3 separate regions of the Homo sapiens genome follow, and all the other regions are linked to region 2. The links are contacts of gene promoters, found by promoter capture Hi-C in blood cells and fetal thymus (Javierre and others, 2016). All regions are on one chromosome and are shown on one strand. Each heading gives the region's core, a stretch centred on a gene start or on the middle of the fragment in contact. The rest is flanking DNA. Distances are from core to core; before and after follow the strand shown. Region 1 overlaps KIRREL1 (kirre like nephrin family adhesion molecule 1). Region 2 holds the start of KIRREL1 (kirre like nephrin family adhesion molecule 1). Region 3 overlaps KIRREL1 (kirre like nephrin family adhesion molecule 1).

Region 1 (3,062 bases), core at 365-2,864, 100 kb after region 2:
GCGAACAGGGTACTGTTCGCTCTTGTCTACAGAACAGCCCTGGCACTGCATTCAAATCCAGTCTTCATTCAGCTGGGATCAAAATGCCAGTCACCTTGGCTACCCACTGTGGACAGCTGTCTGTCAGCATGCAGAGGGATCCAGGAATCCCCCCGGCAGCACGGCCCGCTTTCCTTCTCCTCCATGCTGGGCCAGCCAGATAAGTCAGGGTCCTGGTGGAGAAAGAAAGGCTAGGACCATGTCCTCATTGACCCAGATACTGCTGTGTGCTGCACAGCAGTGAACCAACACTAGAGGGAGCCACACAAGCCTCCTCTCCCCAGTCTGCCCCACTTCCTGGCTTTAACTCTTGAGCTGGTTTGGGGAGTGGTGAGGTAGGGGTGGGGGTGCTGTAGGCTCTTTTTCAAAGAAAACAAAAAACAATGAAAACCTCATTTGGGAAGAAAAGCTGTAGGGATTCCCCCACCCAAATACAAGTCCCAGTGGAAAGGAAAGGTAGTACCTATTCTTCTCCATGGGGTTCCTAACACCCTCCATTACTCTTTCAGTCTCCAAGCACTTTGAATCCATTTTTAAACATTCAGGTTGCCAGACCTGTCACACAGTGGACTCTGATAGGGTTACGGAGGGGGCCTGGCTCTCAGTCTCTACTCTCCTATGTCCCATCAGTTGGTTGGAGGCCACCTTCCAGGGGGTATGGGAGACAGGTTTTGGTTTTTAAGTGTCTTTTTTTTTTTTCTTGGACCAATCAGATTCCTTCTTCCACTTTCAGTGCCTTGAGTGTCAAGCTTTGGATGACCGACCCTATGTGGGCGGTTGTGTGGGGAGTGGGTACTTGTGAGCCTCGGACACACTGTTAAGTGTTACAGTGTTAGGAGAGAGATGGGTGAGGGGACCTGGAGAGGTAAGGGGCCTGGAAATGGCCCTGACAGAGAACTTGTGCTGACCGGGAGAAGGTGGTGCGGAAGGGCACCGCAGGCATTACACAGGCCATTTCTCCTCCTCCATGTGCACGCACATCCAACACACACCTTCCATGTGACTGCTTCTCAGCCACCACTTTCTGACCAAAGAGAACAGGCGCTCCAAGGAGAACCTGTACCCCTGCCCCAGCCTCGCCTTCCTAAAAAGCAGTGTCTGGAGTTGGCTGTTTCCCGCCTCCCCAGCTGCATGTCCAGCCCAGTGGGAGACAGGGCCTCTGGTGCAGTTCCCAAAATGTTCCTCGCCCTTTCTCCGTGGTCACCATTCATAATTCATGTTCGCTTTAATGAGTTACATGCTTATCAGCCACAGGCCATTACCACCCTTATGGATGGGTCTGGGGGGCGACATTCCTGGCCAACCCCTTGTAGGAAGGACCAGATAATACCCAGGAAGCAAGTAGCTCTAATTTTAACTTCACAGGAAGTCTGTGCATCCTCCTTCATTTCAGCAGGGAAAACTCCTGTGGAGTGGGCCCTATCTGGGGCATTTACAGGCTTCCAGCTGTATTCCATCCCTGGAAGCTGATACCTTTCTATAGAGTCCTTTTATGAGAGCTCAGTGGGAAGGTCTGTCAAGAAATTCAGGTTCTTGTACAGACAAATTCATGCAAATTTCTATTATTTTCACAAAAACCAGAAACCATGGGGGAATCCAAAGACTTGAAGTCTAAAGATGGTGGCTTTTAAAACATGCATATTCCAAAAAGAATTCATTTTTGTTTTGGGTTTGGCTAGATTCTCTTATTTATCCCCTTTTAGCTTAAGTATTAGTTTCATTCTACTGAAATGATGGAGAGAGGGCCTAAGGTTACTAGGTAATTGAGCTGATGGTGCAGGGAGAATTGTTGAGAAAGGAAGCCTAGTTTCCAGAAGCCTGACACAGAGCTACTTCACTGTCCTCTACTCCTTAACAAGGTAACTGGAGCCTCTTGGGTGTCAAACAAGCACCCTGGAAGGCACAGGGAAGCATCAGCAACCAAGGTAGTCTCTGCCCTCTGTAACTTACGTGTTGGTGCATCAGAATCTGAATTGGAACCTACCTGATGGGCCCAGTGGAATAGCTTTTCTGGGGAGTGGAAGGCGTCCTTGATCACAGAGCTTTGCTGTCGAATCCTGGAGTCCTGCAACATGGTGATGCCTCAGTAGTTGGTGATCCTGATCACCTTTGGTGGCTTGTTTTAGTGGAAAGAGCAAGGGACTAAAGGTCAGGAGACCCAGGACCCAGTCCTGAAGCTGCAAAGGTTAGATCTCGGCCTAACTTTCTGTTCATTGCCCCCAATTTGTCTGGCCTGTAAAATGAAGGGGGAGGGTTGCATAAACCTAAAACTATTCTGGTTTTGTTATACCCATAGGGTTGGGGGTAGGGATGGGACTGCCCATTGCTGGCAAGGAACTGGGAACAGTAGCAAGCATGGTGAGGGCTGGAGAGCTGGCTGGGGGGGTTCTCTCCTGTTCAAAGAAGCTTTCACCATGGGCTTCATTATCTTGTCAGAAGTGAATTAGTTTCCACCAGGGACCCCTTTATCCCAAACAGCAACACAAAATACACCCTAAACCTCAGAGTAAAATTGATGTGGGGCTATCCTTTGGCTATCGGGTCATCTGTGCTGCTCCCCACTCATTTCTGATGGGTTTGCAAAGGTGCCTTTTGCCAGGGCAGGACATAGTATGCACATAGGGATATTGTTATGTGCCTAGGTTTCAGGCACTCCTTCTGTAGGGGAAAATGGGAGGAGCCTTCCTCCACCCTGATCCTTAGGAACATTCCTCTGGCCCAGGGACAGCTTGTTCTTCTCACCAAACAGGTGAAGCCTGCAGTCCAAGGTGCCTGGAGCCAGAGGTCGGGGAGTAAGCACAGCTGCCCCTGCCTGAGAAGGAGCAGCTTGCAAGGGGAGCCGGTGGAGGGAAAGGGGTACAACAGCTTTGGAATACATTCTGGATCTTGAGGAGGATCTTGTGATTTTGGCTGAGCCACGGTCACTTCCCTCGTGAAGGACCCGCCCTATATCCTAAATTCTGGATCCCTCAAAGTCCAGCCACAGAGTTTGCATGAAGCAAAAAGCCTAGTAAGTGAGAAAG
Region 2 (3,084 bases), core at 46-2,545:
GCAGAAGTATCTGGTCAGGGGTGAGAAGAGGAGCTGGTTGCCAAACTGGGCCCTTAAGAAAGTGGAGATCCCTCCTGAATGCTCTCATGATTCTCAGGAATTCCCTTCCTTCCTAGTTCCTCCATGTCCCTACCCCAAAAGATCTCAAACTCCAGCGTGCTTAGAGATCTGACTGGTGGCTGTCTTCTCCTCTGGCTTGCATTCAGGGAGGTGAGGCCAGGTCTTGGCCCTTCAAAGCCATCCAGTTGGCTACCTTCTCCTTCGGGATGGGTGGAAGGCTAAGATGAACAAAGGAAGGGTCAACTGTGCCTCTTCCAGGCCGCTGAGTCCTCCAACGCCTAGCTGTGCTCAACCTTGACTGGGTGAAGCCAAGGCAGGGCCTCAAGGCAGGTCCAAGAGGCAGCTCCCATTCTCCAGTTCTGGGTTTTATAGGTGGGGAGAGGCATGTATGCCCCTCCCTTATCCAAGCATTCATTAGTCAATTGAGAATTCTTAATTTGGGGAATCTAGGGGCTAGACTTTGGGTGTGGAATTTAAAAAGAAAGGTCTTTATGTTTATTTAACTCCCTGCCCCCCACCCCACTCCTAGACACACACACGGAAACACACACACACACACACACACACACACACTCCCCATCACATCCTCTGAGCTAGAGGCTGATGTCCCTCAGCCCATGTTCCTCCTCCACTGCTTAGTTCCATAGCCCGCGACCAAGATTGCGTCTATAAATAGGAGGGGGTGGGGTGGCCAGGGGTCCCGTCGTGCCTGCCCCAGAACCCACGACGGTCACATTTTTCACCCCCTTTTGCCTTTGCCCTCAATTCCTTTCCCTCTTTGCTCTCCTTCCATCTCAGTTCCAGCGAGGGGGGTATGTGTGTGCGCGCGTTGTGGGGGGGCAGGGGGAGGGCTCGTGGAGGGAGGCGCCGTCGGAGGGAGAGTAGACGTCAGGCGGAGGGAGGGAGGCAGGCAGGCAGGGAGGCAGGGAGGGAGAGAGGGAAGGAAGAGAAGGGGAGAGAAAGGGGGAGCAAAGACCGAAAGAGACCCAGAGAGATACAGCTTGAGAGGAGAAATAATTAAAGGGGGAGGGCGACCAGGAGGAGAAAAAGGTCTGGGAGGAAAGAGAGATAAAGAGAATCGGAGGGCAGGGAAATGAGTTTGTGCGCGTGAGTGTGCGCGCGCGCGTGTGTGTGTGCAGGGGCGGGCGCGGGCGGGCGGGGGGCGGGCTCCCGGGCTCCCGGGCTCCCCTCCTCCCCAGCCCGCTCCTCTGGCTCGCTCGCCAACTCCGGGCCCCAGCCGCGGGCGGGCGCACGGCGGGCGGACAGCATGCTGAGCCTCCTCGTCTGGATCCTCACTCTCTCCGATACTTTCTCCCAAGGTAAGGGCCCCCAGCCCACCCCCGGACGCTCGGCTTCCCCCCGGGGCCGGGGCACTGCTTCCCCGGTGGGAGAGTGCTGGAGTGCCCCGCGGCCCGCGGCCAGTCCCCGGGTCCGGACGCCACGAGGCGGGGGCTCGGTCCGGGCGCAGAGCCCTGGGGGAGGGGGCGCGGAGTAACGAGGGGCTGGGGAGAATGAGTTTGCCGTTGATTTGCCCAAGTTGTTTCCTCTGGCTGCGCGGGAGAACCGAGCAATGGGGCCGCGAGGGCTGGAGGTCCGAGTAAAACGGGGAACCGAACGCTTTCTCTTGAGCTTCTGGCAGCCCTACCGACCCTCGCCCTCTGAGGCCGGGGTTCCGGACGCCTGAGTCCAGCCTAAGGGCAAGGCTGGGAAGAGGGTGGGATTTCGGATTTCGGGCGAGGGGGTGAGCGAAAAGCTGGGTCCCACCTCCCGAAGATGTTGCCAAGGGGATCCCCCTACTCCAGCCCAGCCCCTCGGGGGTCTGAGTCTGAATCACGGCTCCAGCCTGCCTGGGGCTGCCCCCTCTAGAGGAAGGGAGGGGTGTCTCGGCGCCTCTAGTGGGGATTTGGAACCCCTGCCCACGGAGGCTCTGGGTGGAGAGTGGAGTTCCACATACAGCTTCAGGCCCGCTTGATACAGAGGGGGGGAACTCACGGGGGCGGGGGCAGAGGCGGTGGGGGGAGGGGGCTGACACTCTACTTGGGCTCAGGAAAGTGTTGCTGTCTGGGGCTTATTTGACACTGGCAGGGGAGAGGCTGGGAGGTGAGGGAGGTGGTTGGGAGAGATGAGGATGTCAGTGTATCCTGGGCAGGGCTGGGGTTGGGGGAGGGAAGAGGGCTGAGGGAACCAAGGGTCCAGACTGCAGCAGGGACTGGGGTCTGTGGGAGTTGGTTCTTGCCTCCCAGGTCTGACTCTAAGGAAGACTGAATCCTGCTGAACTCCTTCCCTCCCCAAAAATGGAGCTGACACACAGAAATTGACACACAAACACCGTAAAACACTCACAGACACTGAGACAGACTACTCACCTACTGAGAGAGAGACATCCCCACAAACATCCCCCACACTGAGACAGACACATATACACAAAGACACGGAGACATCTGAGGAAGACAGATTCCTCCCCCAGATCGGCACACACTCACGCATTCATCCACCCGAACGTTACAACTATACACAGTACATGTATGCAGGCGTTTACAAGGACAGGACACACGCTCTCACAGAAACCAACCCTCTAGCAAACAAAGAAACTTGAACAGACATTCATATGGGCAGACACCTATGGAGATGTACAGACTGCAGATGGAGGAGGTGTCCTCTTTTAGGGGGTGTCTGGGAATGGATCTGGGTAGAACAGCCTCAGGCATTATTGCCCTGCTTTCTGTTCCCTTCCTGCGTTTGTAGGTGGTGTGTTATGCTGGACCTTTCCTCTCCTTGTCGGGTCTCTTCCCAGTTCCGAAGGCAAAGCCTGGCTGAGTTGGTGGGGGCACGTCTTGATTCATTTCTCCCCACAGGGCACCCATGCCAGCCCCCCAGCACACACTATGATATGGGAAGGGCACACATCTGTGGTGTGAGCCAGGAGTGGGAGGTGGTGCTAGGGGAAAGGAGGAGGCCTGGCCCTGGGGTTGGCAGGCCAGGCCAGCCACTTGGCAGAAAGTTGGGAAGATGACTTAAGTTCTG
Region 3 (3,022 bases), core at 137-2,636, 81 kb after region 2:
TTGCCAGTGGCTTTAGTAGGCCCAGGGTCTAGGCTGCCTTTCCATCCAATTAAATTCCCGAGATGTCTTTACTTCCCCTCCTTTCTGGACTCTCTGCAAGGTTATTACTTCCATGCCCCTGTGTCTGGACTGAATTGCTTCAGTCAGGCCTAAATCAAGAGGAAACTTCAAAACTGCCAGAAAGTCAGATACCACCTTCTTTGTCATGTTCCTATTCAGGTTTCCAGTTGTCCCTCTAATTGTCTAACTGTTCAGGAGAAATAATGATCATAGCTGCCATTTAGTGCATACAGGCAAGGGACTGTACCACGCATAGCATACACCTCATCTCATTTTACTTTGACAGCAATCCAGAAATAGACATTAACATTCCCCAGTTTACCAGGCAGGAAAATGAAGCTTAGCAAATAACTTGGCCAAGGTCACTGGGTGAGAAAGCCACACAGGCAATATATAAACCACAGTCTGTCTCCTAAACCTGTCCTCTTAGTATTTGGGCACAGAGGGATTTGGCGTTCCTCAGTCCAGGCTTGTCATTGTACAGGTGAGCAAATGGGGGCCCATATGAGGAATTGACACACCCAAGGTCACACCACTCCTCATCTCCACAAGACCCCCGTTTCCTGATTCTTACTTCAAGTGCTTCCCATCTCCATCTTGCCGCAGGGTCAGCTGCTTCTTCATTCCAAGTGGACAAGGAGCCAGCTGCTCACTGTCCTTGAGAGACTTCAGCGAGAGACCAGGGTGTCCAGGCTCCATGCAGGAAAGCCATGCGTATAAATTCCACCTCTGAGCCAGGGCTCACCAGCAAGCCCACTCTTAAGCCCTTGACTTGGGCTCCAGGGGCCATGGGAAGGAGAAACGTGAGTGTGGAGAGTTTGCAGCATATAGCTGCACTAGAGAAATGCGCAAGGATATGAATAAATTTGAATAATAATGAGGACAATGCTTGAATTAATAATGTTGGCTGCTCACCTGACCCACCCCTCCCCCAGGATCTCAGCACCTGCCACCCTGATCACTCAAAAGGGATTATCCTTTAGAAGACATGAATGAAAGGTCAGGTCAGCAGACTTGAGGAGCCACTCATGGAGTATGGGAGAGGGAGCCTGTTTCTAACTTCCTGGCCCCTGCAGACCCAAAGACCTAAATTTGCACACTTAATCAAGAGTAAAGAGTCTGCCTCATGCTAGATCACATTCTGGTTATCAGTCCACTCTAGGCCCCAGCTACCTCTTTTTCAGACCCCTTTGTGTGCAACAACCAGTGGGGATGGATGTCGGATGTTCAGGAGATTCAGATGGGGGAGAGAGCTTGGCCCTCTGCCTTAGAGGAGATGTTGGCATTCTGCTGGAACAGATAGGGCAAATGTCCTCACCTACTAGTTGCCCTCTACCCTGTGACAAACAAAATCATGGACATTACCCCTGATCATTTGAGAGAGGAAACCCCGTACATAGTGATAACAGCAGGGCCGAGTGACGCGACCGGTTATATTTGCCCAAGAGGCCAAGGAATTGGGCTAGGAGGGCTTCCTGGAAGAGGGACATGTAGAGCAGGTTTGAGGAAAAAAGGAGAAATGGGGCTGGTGAAGAGAAAGGAAGGAAGGGGATGAGACTAGGATCCCACTTCTGTGGTGGCTTAGAGGGACATCTTGGAGTGGCGAGGGGTGAGTTAAGTTTGCTTACACACAGGAGTGATGATGGGGCAGATAAATTTTAGAAAGCTCTGTTAGGAAAAGGTCAGATTTGGGGATTGTGGCCTCTGCAGATTCATGAGCTGTGGAGGGAAAGAAGAAGGAGGAGGCCGTGACTTTTGGGGAGAGCCGATTTCAGTTACCTGGTATGACAGGTTGGGAGCATGGCAAGGAAGTCCCAGAACTCTCCTTTGCTGTCCTTCAGTCACTCCCTTGTCCCCCTTCTCCTTTCCCCACAACTTGGCAAAGGAACCTGAGCCCCATAGCTCACATAGCTCTGCAAGGAGCCTAGGCCTGCCCCACCACTGGGGCCGACCAGTGCTGGTTGGAGCCAGTGGGTGGGAGTGGTGGGGGAGAAAAAACCCGCAATGCAATTCCCTGCTCCATTTAGGCTCCACAATTAAAGGCAATTACTCTGCAGTTCTCTAATCAAATGCTCCCGGCCGAGCTGCCAGCCGGGCAGCCATGTGTAGCTCCCACAGCCGGAGGGAGAGTGGAACAAAGTCACGTGGCCTCTCAGCTCCCACAGTGAAGGAGGCGGGGTGTGTGCAGGTGTGTTCATGTGTACACACTTAGGCCCCCCTGCACTTGGGAGCGAAGGATGAACACACAGAGCAGGGCACATGTGCCAAGAAGTGGGTTCAGAGCTACTTTGTTTTGGATACACTTTCCACCCAGGAAGCTTCTATACACACATGTGGACATGCTGGCTTTATAGTATCTACCCTGATGTATTCGTGGAGGAATTGTACCTGGCATAGTTGCACATGAGTGTTGGTTCACATTGACTCCCATCAGCTCACATGACACGCGTCTAAGTAGGAGTCATTAATGTGGGGGTGGGCTGGGGCAATGGGTAGTAGAGGAACAGCTAGGACCTGGATGCAGGGGCTCAGGTTCTAATCCCAGCTCTGCCATTAACTTGCCCTTGAGTAAGTTACTGTCCTCCCTGGAAGTCAGGGTCCTCCTCTGTAAAATGAGAGGGTTGGACTAGACCCATTTTTAAGGCCCTTCTGTAACAGTGCACTATTTTCTGTGATTGCTGAGCACTTCAGCTCCTGAAATCCATTCCCATGGGTCTCAGAGGGAGGAAGGAATAAAGGGTAAGGACGTGGCATCTTGAAACAAAGGGGTTGAGGCTGAAGGGGGGCAGGGACCGGAGAGTCCCCATCCCCAACTGGAGGCTCTCCCTCCTTCCAGCTGCATGGTGAGGGGGACCTCTTAGAGGAGCCCCTCTCCTTACTCATCTTACCCAGTGCTGGCTTTGGCTTTGCAGGGACCCAGACCCGCTTCAGCCAGGAGCCAGCTGACCAGACGGTGGTGGCT

The links. The method cuts DNA at HindIII sites, captures the fragments that hold promoters and counts their contacts. A CHiCAGO score of 5 or more calls a contact.
Region 1: a contact is called between a fragment that was not itself captured here and the fragment with the promoter of KIRREL1 in region 2, in 3 of 17 cell types (endothelial precursors, megakaryocytes and fetal thymus). The highest score is 12.1, in endothelial precursors.
Region 3: a fragment that was not itself captured here is called in contact with the fragment with the promoter of KIRREL1 in region 2 in 1 of 17 cell types (endothelial precursors); the score reaches 9.0 in endothelial precursors.

The regions. Positions count from the first base shown.
Region 1 is chr1:158,095,644-158,098,705 of GRCh38, forward strand. KIRREL1 (kirre like nephrin family adhesion molecule 1) reads left to right here. Exons shown (of 15, transcript NM_018240.7): 15 at 1-3,062. Among named protein-coding and RNA genes, the nearest start is that of SMIM42, 31 kb to the right of the region's middle. The HindIII fragment of the contact is 1,657 bases long and covers 787-2,443 here.
Region 2 is chr1:157,992,350-157,995,433 of GRCh38, forward strand. It overlaps KIRREL1 (kirre like nephrin family adhesion molecule 1), which reads left to right and starts at 1,296. Exons shown (of 15, transcript NM_018240.7): 1 at 1,296-1,379. The coding sequence starts at 1,328. The HindIII fragment of the contact is 5,747 bases long and covers 1-3,084 here.
Region 3 is chr1:158,073,141-158,076,162 of GRCh38, forward strand. KIRREL1 (kirre like nephrin family adhesion molecule 1) reads left to right here. Exons shown (of 15, transcript NM_018240.7): 2 at 2,973-3,022. Among named protein-coding and RNA genes, the nearest start is that of KIRREL1-IT1, 49 kb to the left of the region's middle. The HindIII fragment of the contact is 1,979 bases long and covers 398-2,376 here.